Linked DNA regions of Homo sapiens: region 2 is linked to region 1. Evidence: promoter capture Hi-C in human tissues and cell types (Jung and others, 2019). All regions are on one chromosome and are shown on one strand. Each heading gives the region's core, a stretch centred on a gene start or on the middle of the fragment in contact. The rest is flanking DNA. Distances are from core to core; before and after follow the strand shown. Region 1 holds the start of AK4 (adenylate kinase 4). Region 2 overlaps PDE4B (phosphodiesterase 4B).

The links. The method cuts DNA at HindIII sites, captures the fragments that hold promoters and counts their contacts. A contact is called where the count stands out against the background at its distance.
Region 2: a fragment that was not itself captured here is called in contact with the fragment with the promoter of AK4 in region 1 in 2 of the 25 tissues and cell types used here (mesendoderm cells and thymus).

What each region holds. Positions count from the first base shown.
Region 1 is chr1:65,145,677-65,152,845 of GRCh38, reverse strand. AK4 (adenylate kinase 4) reads right to left here and starts at 4,643. Exons shown (of 5, transcript NM_013410.4): 1 at 4,294-4,643. The coding sequence starts at 4,438. RefSeq lists enhancers at 1,036-1,085, 2,676-3,394, 3,395-4,113 and silencers at 3,707-3,986, 4,047-4,346, 4,727-5,226, 5,237-5,476. The HindIII fragment of the contact is 12,604 bases long and covers 1-7,169 here.
Region 2 is chr1:65,900,033-65,907,201 of GRCh38, reverse strand. The region is part of intron 1 of PDE4B (phosphodiesterase 4B); the gene reads right to left. Among named protein-coding and RNA genes, the nearest start is that of PDE4B, 110 kb to the right of the region's middle. The HindIII fragment of the contact is 5,447 bases long and covers 1-5,185 here.

The DNA.
Region 1 (7,169 bases), core at 3,394-5,893:
TTTATACTTAATGAGCACCAAAAAGAACCCTGAGCCCTCTGAACTAGGCCATCTTTTCAAAAAGAGGCTGGGCCCATAGACTAACTTGAAATGCTAGTCCCATCAGCAAAACTCCAGCAAGAGCTGCAGTTAATATTGAGAAGCAGAGGCCAGGTGCGGTGGCTCACGCCTGTAATCCCAGCACTTTGGGAGGCCGAGGCAGGCAGATCATGAGGTCAGGAGTTCAAGACCAGCCTGGCCAAATGGTGAAACCCCATCTCCACCAAAAATACAAAAATAGCCACACGTGGTGGTGTGTGCCTGTAGTCCCAGCTACTCGGGAGGCTGAGGCAGAAGAATCGCTTGAACCTGGGAGGCGGAGGCTGCAGTGAGCCGAGACTGTGCCACTGCACTCCGGCCTGGGTGACAGAGTGAGACTCCGGCTCAAAAAAAAAAAAAAAAAAAAAAAAAAAAAAAAAAAATATATATATATATATATATATATAGAGAGAGAGAGAGAGAGAGAGAGAGAGAGAGAGAGAGAGAGAGATAGCAAGTGCAGAAACAGGTTTGTTCCTTAACATCTTTTATCTCAATTAACTCCAAGATGCTTCCAAATGGAGATGTGCCAGTTTTCCTGCACTTGAGATAGTAGATCCAGTATAATGTGGTTTTAAAAAATACCACTATTTCTCCAACCTTTAAAACAGGATTTGCATATCCTTTAGATATGACCCAATAAAAGAATCTATCATTAAATATCAGAATTTGTTCAGAGTTTGTAGTAGGACTCACTCAATAGAGTGCCAGTCCCTGTGTGTGTGTGTATACTCATACATACATGTGCATACCCATACATACACAGAGAAAAGCTAATATTTCTTACAACAGAGGGTAAGACCCAACTCCTGGCAATCTAAGAGAACTCTCCCTTCTATTTACTCTTGCAGTGTGCTAAAGAAAATCTGAGCCAAAGATATGGGTGTGACTCTTCAAATGAGGTATCTGATAAGCCTCAGCCTGTACCACTCTAGGCAGTGTAGGAAGGGCCAATGGGTGACAGCTACCATGAAGCTAATCTCAGATCCATATTAAGCACAAACTTTTACCATAAATCAGAGCTAATTAAACAAAATGGTCTCTATGCTATAGGTTGCTTGACTTCTGGACTAAGATGTACTGTCTAGAATTTGTGACCCAGGCCTTTAATACAGACTCGGTAAGCTCCTTTTATACATTAGGTACTTTGCCTGATCCCTGTCCTCCAAGTTTCAGAGTGGAAATTGTACAATGGTATAGGCAGAAAGAACAAAAGGCCCAAGAATGGGCCAGGTGCAGTGGCTCACACCTGTAATCCCAACATTTTGGGAGACTGAGCCAAGAGTTTGAGACCAGCCTGGGCACTAAAGCAAAACCCCTATCTATAAATAATAATAAAAGAGGCACAAGATTATCTTAATGCTATTGCCCCCAGCACCTAGAACATTGACGCACAGCAGCCACTCAGCAGATATCTTACTGGGTGTGAGACAGGCATTTTTACACTGCATGATATATGACTGCAACATTAGAATCAATAAGACATGTGCAGAGGAGAGGAGGTCAGGTGCGGTGGCTCACATTTGTAATCCCAGCACTTTGGGAGGCCAAGACGGGTGGATCATCTAAGGTCCCGAGTTCGCGACCAGCCTGACCTCGAACCTTCGTAGAGATGGTGAAACCCTATCTCTACGAAAAATACAAAAATTAGCCGGGCGTGGTGGCAGACGCCTGTAATCCCAGCTACTTGGGAGGCTGAAGCAAGAGAATCGCTTGAACCCGGGAGGCAGAGGTTGCAGCGAGCCGAGATAGCGCCACTGAACTCCGGTGTGGGTGACAGAACGAGACTCGTCTCAAAAAAAAAAAGTTATGTGCAGAGGAAAGAGATGAATTCTGCCAGAGCAGGTGAGGGAAGACTTCCAAGAAGCAATGACATCAGAATGGCCCTTTCCTGAAAGAGCAGCTTTTCACCAGGCTGCAGGAGGAGGAAAGCCATGTAGACAAGAGTGTGCCCAAATCCAGGCTGGAGCAGATGGCCGGAGCTACTTTCCAATTCAAATTCCTACACGGTTCTATTTCCTGGGTTTTTGTTGTGCTTCATCGTCTCCTTCAAACCTTCCATTATAAAGGGTACATACAGAAGGGTGGTTGTGTTTCCCACCAGGAAATCAGCTAAAAGCAAACAGCAGGTAACAGACAGAAAAATAAATACCGTGGAAAGGAATGTTTTATTTACCAGGCAGTAAGCCTATAAGATTCTCAGACCTTCTGAGAGGGAAAAATAATCCGATAACCCGAAAGTTCACTAGAAACAAGCCACTTTCAAAACAAATTGCTGTCCTTTATTTTTCTTCTTTCTTTGATAAAGTTTTTTTTTTAATTGGCTCATGCAAAAAGCTGCTTGATTCCCAACAGAAAAAAGAAAATCTAAACATTTCATAGTCATTTCTCACTCCAGGGAGGATCACTGGGGAGGAAATGAAGGCATTTGAAAGAGAATGAAAACTAAAATTTAGAACACAGGAAAGTTAAAAAAAAAAAAGAGAGAGAGAGAGAAAGAGAGAACAAGGGAAAAGAGCAAATGGAAAATTTTCAAAGCCCCTAAGAAAGTGCAGAAATAAGCTACTTCCCATCACACTCTCTTTAAACATGGAAAGGGCTATGAGTCCAGTCCCAGGATGGACAGTGTGAAGCCCTTCATTCCAGAAGGAAACAAGTCACCAAGTAAGGTACAGAGAATTATGGAATGGGCTCATAGAAGGAAACAAGTCTCCTAGTCAGGTACAGAGAATTATGGAATGGGCTCATCTCTTCTCACTGTCTTCCTTCACTGACTCCATGCCCCTACCATGAAGAAGCCCAACCTAAACACAAAACCATTAGGATGAGAGCCAGCCTTCCCCCTCAGGCCGCTCTCCCCTCAAACCGCAGCATTTCAAGAATAAAATGCATGTGAATGTATTAAAATCAAAATAGGCGCACTTGAGGTAACAATACCCACAACAGAAAACTCAAGTGCAATCTGGTACACATAATTCTTCCTTTTGAGACATGGGGGTGGGGGAAGAGTTTCCTGTAAAAGTCCGCTTTTTCAATCTGCTTAAGAGATAAGGAATACAATTCTGGAGATACTTCTTAATTCCTTGCTTTTAAGCTTTCCTTTTGTTTTCTGGTACTGTCCTCCACCTTCCTTTTCAAGCCAGTCTGTGCTTCTGAAATGCAGATCTCCGGATAATTAGTCCATGATGGGCAATAACCAGCCCGGACATCCTTGAGAAGTACATCGACAGTAAAGGACCCCTGCTGGGAAGAACAACTTTTCATAAAGGAGTTGCTAATTACCAGCATCTCCATCCCAGAAGGGTTAAGAGCCTCGCAGCAGCACAACCGCTACCTCTCGCCTTTTAACGCCAATTCTTTCGGAACTGGTGTGAACGTGGAGTGGGAGGAGAGGGGGAAAGGGACGCACTCAACCCCGTCAGACTAAGAAATCAGGCGATCTATATATCCCCAAGTTCACCACGCCAGCCAAAGGAGGCATCTCATGCCAAGGGAGGCAGCTCAAGAAGCCATTTCCAGGAAAGCTGCATTACAAAATGTAATTTATCAGAACGAGTCTCCTCCGAGTCTCCTGACGGCCAGGCCCGGCGGCTTCGGGAGGGGGGGGAGTTGCTGGGGAGAGTTTACCTTAGAAGGCGACAACGAACAGACAGGCCTTTCAAAGCCACCCAGGGCTCTGCCCCGAGGCCCGAGGCTGCGTGGAGGGGCTGGAGAGGCGCGAGGCTGCGAGCCCCCCGGCGCCACAGGTTCCCCGGCGCGCGGCCCCGCCCGACTGCCACAGGTGGGCGGCGCTCCGCCTCTGGGCTCCCGCGGGAGGGGGCGCGCGGCTCTCTAGGGACTCGGGGGAGGGGGCCAGGGCTAAGGGGTACGGGGACGGCTCTGCCTTAAGGAGGGCAGCGTGAGACGGAAGCTCCGGGTTTTCCCTGCCTAGTTCTCGTTCCCTCGGCCGGGTGGCTCGGGCTATTCCTCGCGACAGGAGGAGCGGTGGAGAGGAGCCGTGGGCACCTCCCACCGGCCGCCCCTGGAGCCTCGGCCTCCTCCCCAGGCGCGGTTAAGCCGCGCGGCCGCCAGCTGCATGCGCCCCGGCACGTACGAGCCTGCACGACCACACGCGGGCGGGGGAAGGGCGCCGTGATCCGGGAGCCCCAGTCCCTCCAGGGCCTCACCCCAGCCCAACGCGGCTCGCCCCCGGCCCTCGTCCCCGCAGCCCCTCACCGGTGCTGGCCTTGATGTTCTCCCGCAAGAAGTGGCCGCTGGAGAGATGCTGGAGACCAAAGTTCTGGGCGATCCTCTGGCACACGGTGCCCTTGCCCGAGCCGGGCGGCCCGAGGATGACCGCGCGCAGGAGTTTGGAAGCCATTGCCTTCGCGAGGAGGGGGGCGGTCAAACGCGCAGCCCCGACCGCGGCCCCGGAGGAAGCCCCGGGAACTTTGTTTCTCGGCCCCCTACCTCTGGCACCCTCCGCTCTCACTGGGACTCGCCGGCCGCCCCTACAGGGGGAAGGAGAGACTTTTAAGACAACCCCTCCCCTCAGCCCAGCGCCGGGACCGAGTAGCAGGCGGACTGAGCGCCACGCTACACCTCCCCGCCCTTCTCCACCTCCTCGCCCTCCTCCACCTCCTCGCCCCCACGCAAAGCTGCTGAAGCGCGCCGTGCCCCGCCCTGCCGACTCGGCCTCCAGGGGTCAGAGGTCGGCCCGGCCAGTCCCACCTTCATCCTTAACTCCAGCTCGCTCCCCACGCCGCGTCCGAGAAGGGGGCCGGGCGGCCAGGCATCCCCAAGCCAGTCTCCGCCGAGCCGGGGAAGCTGGCACAAGCGGGGGTGACTCAAAGCCAGCCCCCGCCGCCCCACGCACCGGGCGGCCTAGGGGCTGAGCCCCTGCCCGGTCCTCGCACGTGGGCAACGTGTGGTCTGCGTCTCGTCCCCTCCCCGGCGGCTGTCACATCCCCCGGAGTCTCAGCTGCCGCCGCTGCCCGCCGCCCGCGCGCGCTCGGAGGGGCCCACCTCCGCCCGGGGTTGGCGGATGCGCTCCCCGGCCATGGGGCGCGCGACGAGCCCGAGCCCCGCGCCTCGCCACCAAAAGCAATCAAATAAACACACACCTTGGCTGGAGGCAGCACTCCGAGAGGCTTCCAGCCCGGATCCTGCAGGGCGGCGCCGCCTCCGCCCGCCCAGTCGCGGAGCCCCGGCCGGCCGCGCGGGACTCGCGCCTTACGTAAGCCCGGGAGACCGGCTCCGCGCGAGCCGCTGGCCGCCGCCCCCTCCCCTCCACTCCACTCCACTCCCACCCAGCCTGCCTGGCCCACGTGCTCCCTGCGACCCAGCGAGGGCTGCGGGGGCGAAGCGAGGTGCAGACCACGCGAGGTAGAGAAACCCCTTTTTTTCTTTCGCGGTCGCCTGGGGACCGCGGTCTACTGCAAGGGAAGGGAAAAATACAACTTGTTGAGCGCCTACTGTGCGCCAAGTTTGCGGCTAGGTGATTTCATTGTGTTTACAGCCGAGGAATGGAGCGTGACCATTCATTCATTGATTCATTCTGCAAATGTTTATTGAGTGCCTACTGTGTGCCAGAAACTATTCTAGGCGCTTAGGATCTAGCCGTGAACAACAGATCGAATCCTGCTCTCAAGAAATTGCGTCCTAGCGGGAGGCTGGAACCCAAGACTGACTGACTCCAAAGTCTAGGCGCCTTAGGGAACAGGGAAGAAGGGGATGTCCCTCACCTGTGTTCAGGACCTTCTTGGTAAATGATTCCAGGACTTCCATGCGCATTATGCTGGTGCTGCACCTATAACTCACCAAGTCCAAATGGAGTCTGTCTTCCCCCACTCCACCCTCCCCTGCATATCCCAATCCACATTCTGTTAGATCTGTGCCCACCTTACACACAGCCTTTAATTTCCCACCCCAACTAGTGGGATAAGTGCCCATAAGACTCCAGTTTCTGTGCCATTCCATTTTCCGTGCAGCTGCCAGGAATACTGATAAAGTGAAAATCAATATTTATTATTTCCCGGCCTCAGATATTGTCTTCCCTTCAGGATAAAGTGAAAAATCTTCAGCAGGGGCGCAGAGATGCCTTCCGTACACCTTTGCATTCTGCAGGCCCCCTCCTCTGCCTTCCTTCCACAGGCCACCTGCCTTCAGGAAATCTGTTGCAGAGTTCCCAGCACCAATACCCAGGACTCAGAGAAGGTGAGGGACACAAGTAGTGGGATGGTGTGGAGAAGAACCCCCTCTCAGCTCTTTGATTGGGGTTGGTGGAGGGCAGGGCCTGGCATAGTTTCCTGACACCCAGCGCCTCTCCCCACTGCTTACTCCACGCACAAAATTGGCCAGACAGCACACCCAGGCCACCAGCCCCAGGCCAGCATTTGTTCCATAGACTGATCTCCCTCTAAAATGTCTCAGTGTGGCCGGGCGCTGTGGCTCACACCCGTAATCCCAGCACTTTGGGAGGCCAAGGCAGACGGATCACTTGAGGCCAGGAGTATGAGACCAGCCTGTCTAACATGGTGAAACTCCGTCTCTACTAAAAATAGAATGATTAGCCAGGTGTGGTGGTGCACGCCTGTAATCCCAACTACTCCAGAGGCTGAGGCAAGAGAATCACTTGAACCTGGGAGGTGGAGGTTGCAGTGAGCTGAGATCACGCCACTGCACTCCAGCCTCGGAAACAGGGCGAGACTCTGTCTCAAATAAATGATAAATAAATAAATAAATAAATAAATCTCAGTGTGCTGTAGACCTGATACTGAGCCCCTTCAAACCTTTTCTGGGAACAAAGAGGAAGAACTTGCGGGTCTGGGGGTGGGGGTATATGTGTATAATATGTAGCAGATACTTCTTTGGAGTGGCTCTCAGAAGTGAGCATGCATCAGAATCACCTGGAAGGCATGTTGAAACGTGTTGCTGAGCTCCCCCTGCATAGTGCCACGCACGTCCATGTGAAGAGACCACCAAACAGGCTTTGTGTGAGCAATAAGGCTGTTTATTTTACCTGGGTGCCGGCGGGCTGAGTCCGAAAAGAGAGTCAGGAAAGGGTGGTGGGATTATCATTAGTTCTTATAGATTTTCGGATAGGCGGTGGA
Region 2 (7,169 bases), core at 1,213-3,712, 760 kb before region 1:
TCTTATTTTAATATGATGGAGATAAACAGAGGCAAATGTGCTTCCTCCCCAAAATTTTTGAAGTTGTATGATGCAAAAAATAAAGAGCAAGTAAATTTGAGGGGAAAAAAGTATATGTAATAAGAAAGGTCATTTTATTTGTAAAGTTGCTCAATATTTAGACACAAACATTGCTTGGAGAGAAGAATCAGTTTTTTCAATTAAGTAATAAGTATCAATGACTTTTGAGATAAAAACTGAAAAGTGCTAGGGATTAATATGAACTTAAACCATTAGCTTATCCTGAGAGAACAATAAGTAACAAAGACATAATGGCATCCTTTTAAATAATCATCAAAAGGCAAAGTAGCCAGGCTAAATGCTGCTTTGAGTAAAACATGTCTCCTGAACAACCACTTAAACCAATTTCTACTATAAAATACATTCTTTGTAAATTACTAATAGGGCATGCATTTGAAATCAATACACATGGTGACAAAAAAAGAAAGAATTCTTAATATTCAATTTGCTGAGCTGAATGCTAATGTTCAACAATAACACAACAGAGAGAAAGTGACAAACTAACCCCATGTTTCTGCTTGTGTAAATAATGCCTCAATGAATTTGTTAGTGAATTTCCCTGCAGTATATACTAAGTGGGTAAGTTTTAAAGAGTTGAATTATTTTTCCTAGTCTAAAAAAAAGTAATCACTGATTAATCTCTTATGGTTTAAAATACCATAAAGAGGCATATAAATCACTTTCATTTCAGCCATTTTTTGTTTCATCTTAAACAAAAGGAAAAGAACAAAAAAATCCCTGTATTCAAATCTATTAATAACCTGGTATTGCAAGCTCTCTCCACACCTGAGAGTTTTCATCTCTGAGTTATCACTGTGCCAAAGTGAAGATGGCATTAGTGGAGGTTTAGGATGGATTAGAGAATTTTTTCCGTCTCCTAAAATAAACCACAGAAGATCTACAAACAGATGTAATAGGCAAGTATGGCTGAAACACATTCAATTCATTTAATATTTGCTGGGCATCTGCTCATGCTCAAATTTAGATCTTCTAATGCTACCCTCAAAGGTATTTATCAAACAGCCACTCTAGGATTTCAATTAATATTACCAACTTTCAATGAGAGTATAAAAAATTAAATTGCATCCATGATCCAAAACCCCCATTTCCATCCATCATGAAAAACCACTTCTTTTCATCTGATTTCTCAACAACAACATCAACAAAAGATTGAGAGCCCAACATGTGGTAGGGACTTGCTAGATGCCGTGGATAATACAAAGACGAATATACATAGTCCTTGGCCTTAAAATGCCCCTGTCTCATCTTAGGAGAGGAGAATCAACGCTTATTCATCCTACAATACTGAACACCTTGGCCTGGGTCAGGTTCACAGTGCAGTGTGAGAAGTGCAACAGATCATGGGTTCATTAGGTGAAAAAATGAGTGAAGCCACCTCTATGGGCAAAATGTTATCAAGGAAAGCTTCATTGAGGAGGCTACTGTCCTTTTCCAGGTATTGTAACTAAGAAACAAAGAGAGAAGCCCTTCCACTCCCCCTCTCTCTATTCTCCAGTGTGATCTTTTAAAAATGCAAAATTCCTTATATTAATCCCCAGCTTTGCATTCTTCATGCTTTCTGTAATTTTTAGGATAAAGCAAAACCCTTAATATGAAGATTAATCATACAAGTCCCTACAGATCTGGTCCCTGCTTGACTTTTAAACCTCAACTTCCTATTTTTGCTTCCACTTGCTTCCCCACCTTATGCTTATGCCACATCACTCTCCCCTGTAACTCATTTAGCTTTAGTTCGACTGGATGTAGAGTGTATCCAGCATGCCCTTCTTGTCTCCAAACTTTTCCTACACTATAACATGTCTTCAACTTTGCCGGGCTAACCCATTCTTCAGCCTTCAGCTTTGATGTCATTTGTTCAGAAAAGCCTTTATGGACTTCCCCTACCTGTAAGAAGGTATTATCACATTATTTTTCTATTCACAGTATTTTTCACAATTACATATTTGTTTGTATGAATGAATAGGTTTATGCCTCCCAGAAGCTCATAGAGAATACTGCCAACCACTATATCTCTTGTGCCAAGCAATAAATATTTGCTGGAAAATGTTTGAATGAGTAGACTAGATAGGCTTGAGGCCTCTTGCTAGATTCCCTGAAAGTGTGATAATCCAAAAGCAGCAGATAGGAGGGGGCAGGAAATAGAATCAGAATGCCTGGTAAACTGCAAATGTCAGCTATATTGACAGGATACATATTCCTACTCTTCTGACAGAGATATGAATAACTTTATGGCAGGCACTATTCTATAGTCCCTAAATCTATCATCTCATGTAATTCTCACAACTATTTTTATCTCCATTTTGCAGGGGAGAATTCTGAGGCCCAGAAAGGGTGAATGACTCATCTAAGCTCACTAATCTAGGAAAAGGCAGAGAGACAGGATTCACACCCAGGCACTATGCCTGCAGAGCTCATGAAATTAACCATTACGTCTGCTGCCACTTGGAAGCAGCAAATAAGCATTGTTTATCAGAGAACAAGCAGCAAATAGGATGGGTCAGGGCCAAGAAACAGGATAATTGGGAATAAAAGTAGTATTTCAGAACAAGAAAGGAATCAGAAGATTTTTTTAATGATGAAACATAAAGGAGAGATATGCAGTTGGCAGAACATATGGAGCCTATGAACAGCTACTCTTTCATGTAATCTCATAGGAATTTACATTAAATTGGAAAACGTAAATTGTGTGTATAAAACTGTATATCTAAAACATAACTTAAAAAGCATAATAATTTGTCTCTGTTTTATCTTATGTTTCAACAAGAATTCACCAAGTATTTTTTCTTCTAAATTAGACTTTGATCCAATACTAAATTTTTTTTAAGTTAATACAGAAGACTCATGACATTCATTCACAAGTGCTATGTCTCTAGACTTCAAAAAATTGTCCACCTGTACAGTGCTGTTCAAACATGTTTCATGGGGTATATGGGACACAGACAGTAATTTGGTGTAAGTCTTCTATGTAGACTCAAAGACCCCAGACACTCTTCATCAAGTAACTTTTTTTCCTTTCTTGGGAAGACCACTGAAACAACAAAGGGCAATAGTTCATTCTTGTTTTAAGCAAGCAAGCACACAAAATTTCTGTGCATTCCTTTCTCAGAAATATAAATACTACATCATTACAGACTTCATAAGAGGAAGATAACAAAAATGTGAGAAATCTTTCCAGGACTTCAAATGAATTAATGGCCTAATATTTACTGGCTTAACTGAAATATAATTGGATATGAAGTCTGCCAGTGATTCCCTACCTAGAAGCAACATCCAATTTGGGCCTGTCTGTCCCAGCTCTATTAAAATGTCAGGGGATTCAGGTCTATGTGGACATACGAAAAATAAGCATGTAAACAGAAACAATTTCAAAAGCAGAAGGCTGAAACTCATGTGGTAATACTAGAATGCCACATAATATTGTTTTGATAGAACATAAAGGAACATAGAAATACATTTTTATTGGTCTTTAAGTGTCTTCATATTTAGAAACTATCATTTCCTTATTTATTTTTGTTTTTTTAAATTTTTTAAAAATTATTTTGAGACAGGCTCTTGCTCTATTGCCCAGGCACGACCATGGCTCACTGCAGCCTCAACCTCGTGGGCTCAACAGATTCTCCGACATCAGCCTCTCAAATGAGCAGGGACTACAGATGCACACTCCCACACCTGGCTAGTGTGTGTGTGTGTGTGTGTGTGTGCATGTGTGTGTGCATATTTTGTAGAGATGGGTTTCGCCATATTGCCCAGGCTATATTTATTTTTAAAGATGAGAAATTAAGCTTTGCCCTAAGAATGGACTCATCCATGAAATTTGACAAGCACCTAATACATTTGATATGCAGGAAATGAGAGGCCAGAAGGAACAAATATTAGAGGACAAAGAGACTTAGCAGCTACAACATCTAATTTTTAACTATTTTACATTCTGGAACTCTGTGTAAGATTTTACTTGACAAGAAGTTCTGCCACTTAAAAAGAAAAGCTTGAAAACCACTACAGTAGTGCTTATTATACCCACTTCCATAAAATGTCTTAGAGCAGTGATTTTCAACTTTTACTTATTAAAATACCACCTTTGTAATGTTTGCCATACCATGATTCCCTTATTTTACAGATAAAATATAGAGATCCATAAAAGCTGACCTGTCATTCACCTAGTTGGTTGCATAACTTGGCTTTTGGTCCACAGTTTGTTCCACTACAGTGCCTATATCTGCAGACTCTAAATTAAAGGGTTGTTTTGTTTAGTTTTGGTTTTGTTTCAGCAAAAGCTTATTTATATATTGGAAAGCATTCTAAAACCAAAAAATATACTTCTGCACCCACCAAAATCTTATTTATGAATTCATATAGTCATGTACTTGGGCATTTATTCATTCATGTATCCAACAACAATTTATTGAGCATTACTGAGGGCTGTGTACTGTATAGGCATTGAGGAATCATAGATGAAACAGTATGACTTCTGTCCTCAAGGACTGTTGAATCTAAGTAGAGTATCATCACAATCGTAATGCACAACTGATACAATCAGTTATATGACAGAGATGCTTTACAAGGTGTGACAATAACTTAGAGGAAAGTTATGTAAGTCTGCCTAGGAGGACCAGGGAAGGCTTCATCAAGAAAGTAAATCTGAACTGTGCTTTTGTAAGGTAAGTGGAATTTTATCAGGAAGATGAAGGAAAGTAGTTGATTCATAAACAAAACTTCTTATCACTGATACTTAGCTACCAATAAGAGCTCAATTAGTGACTATGAAATCATTAACAAGTCATTTGATCCTTCTAATCTTCCATTTCTATTGGCAAAACAATTATTTGTTGCATACATTTCTGATATGGCTTCAATAACACATAATCAATATAAGAAAGTGTTAAAACATTGCATGCTACTCTAAGATCAACCACAGACTCATCCATAAATTAAGTCTCAATAAGTTCAAGAAAATCAAGATCATACCCACCATACTCTCAGTCCACATTGGAATAAAAATAAAAGTCAATACCATGAAGATCTCTCAAAACCACACAATGACATGGAAATTAAACAACTTGCTCCTGAATAACTTTTGGGTAAATAAAAAAAATTAAGGCAGAAGTAAAAAAATTTCTTGAAATAAATGAAAATAGAGACACATACAAAATCTCTGGGATGCAGCAGAAGCAATGTTAAAAGTTTATAGTGCTAAACACCTAAACCAAGAAGTTAAAAAGATCTCAAATCAATGATCTAAGATGACACCTAGAGGGACTAGAAAAATAAGAACATACTAATCCCAAAGCCATCAGAAGAAAAAACATAACTCAAATCAGAGCAGAACTAAATGAAACTGAGACTCATAAATCCATCCAAAGAAACCAAAAATTGTTTCTTTGAAAAGATAAACAAGATGAATAGAACACTAGCTAAATTAACAAAGAAACACACAACCTCTCAAGATTGAATCAGAAAGAAATTGAAACTTCAAACAGACCAATATCAAATTCAAAATTGAATCAGAAATAAATTGAAACTCTGAATAGACCAATATCAAGTTTTGAAATTGAATCAGTAATAATAAAACAACTTACCAATCAAAAAAAGCCCTGGGCCAGATGGACTCACAGACAAATTTTACCAAATGTACAAGAAGAGCACTTCTCCCTAATTCATTCTATGAAGCCAACATAACCCTGATACCAAAATCTGGCAAAGGCACAACAATAAAACTACAGAAATATGCCTAATTAACATATATGCAAAAATCTTCAACAAAATATAGCAAACTGAATTCAGAAGCACATCAGAAAGTTAATTCATCATGATCCAGTAGGCTTTATTCCTGGGATGCAAGGTTAATTCATAATATGCAAATCAATAAATGTGATTCATCACATAAACAGAATTGAAAACAAAAACCATATAATCATTTCAATGATGCAGAAAAAGCTTTAAATAAAATCCAACATCCCTTCATGAAAAAACTCTCAACATATTAGGCATCAAAGAAACATACCCTCAAAATAATAAGAGCCATGTATGAAAAACCCACAGCCAACAGCATACTGAATGGGCAAAAGCTGGAAGCACTCCCCTTAAGAACAGAAGCAAGACAAGGATTCCCACTCTCACTACTCTTATTCAACATTGTACTGGAAGTCCTAGCCAGAGCAATCAGGCAAAAGAAAGAAATAAAAGTTATCCAAATAGGAAAAAAAGTCAAATTGTCTATCTTCGCTGACAATATGAGTATATACAGAGAAAACCCTAAGGACTCCACTAAAAGGTTCCTAGAACTCATAAATGACTTCAGTAAAGTTTCAGGATACAAGATCAGTGTACAAAAATTAGTAGCATTTCTATACACCAATAACATTCAATCTGAGAGCCAAATCAAGAATGTAATCTCATTCACAATAGTCATGCAAAAATGTAACATACCTAGGAATACACCTAACCAAGGAGGTGAAATATCTTTAGAAGGAAAACTCTAAAACATTGCTGAAAGAAATCACAGATGACACAAACAAATGGAGAAACATTCCATGCTCATAGATTTGAGAAACCACTATCATTAAAATGCCCATAATGCCCAAAGCAATCTATAAATTCAGTGCTATTCCTGTCAAACTAACATCATTTTTCACAGAATTAGAATAAAACTATTCTAAAATTCGTGTGAAATTAAAAAAAGAGCCCAGATAGTGAAAGCAATCCCAAACAAGAACAAAGCTGGAGGTATCATAGCTCCTGACTTCAAACTATACTATAAGGCTATAGTAACTAAAACAACATGGTACCCAAACAAAAACAGACACATATACCAATGGAACAGAATAGAGAAACCAGAAATAAAGCCACACATCTACAACCATCTAATCTTCAACAAAGTCAACAAAAATAAGCAATGGTAAAGGACTCCCTATTCAATAAGTGGTGCTGGCGTAACTGGCTACCCATAGGAAGAAGAATGAAACTGGACCCCTACATTTCATCACATACAAAAATTTTCTCAAGGTTGATTAAATATTTAAATATTAAACCTCAAACTATAAAAATCCTAGAAGAAAATCTAGGAAATACCCTTCTTTTTTATTTTTTTA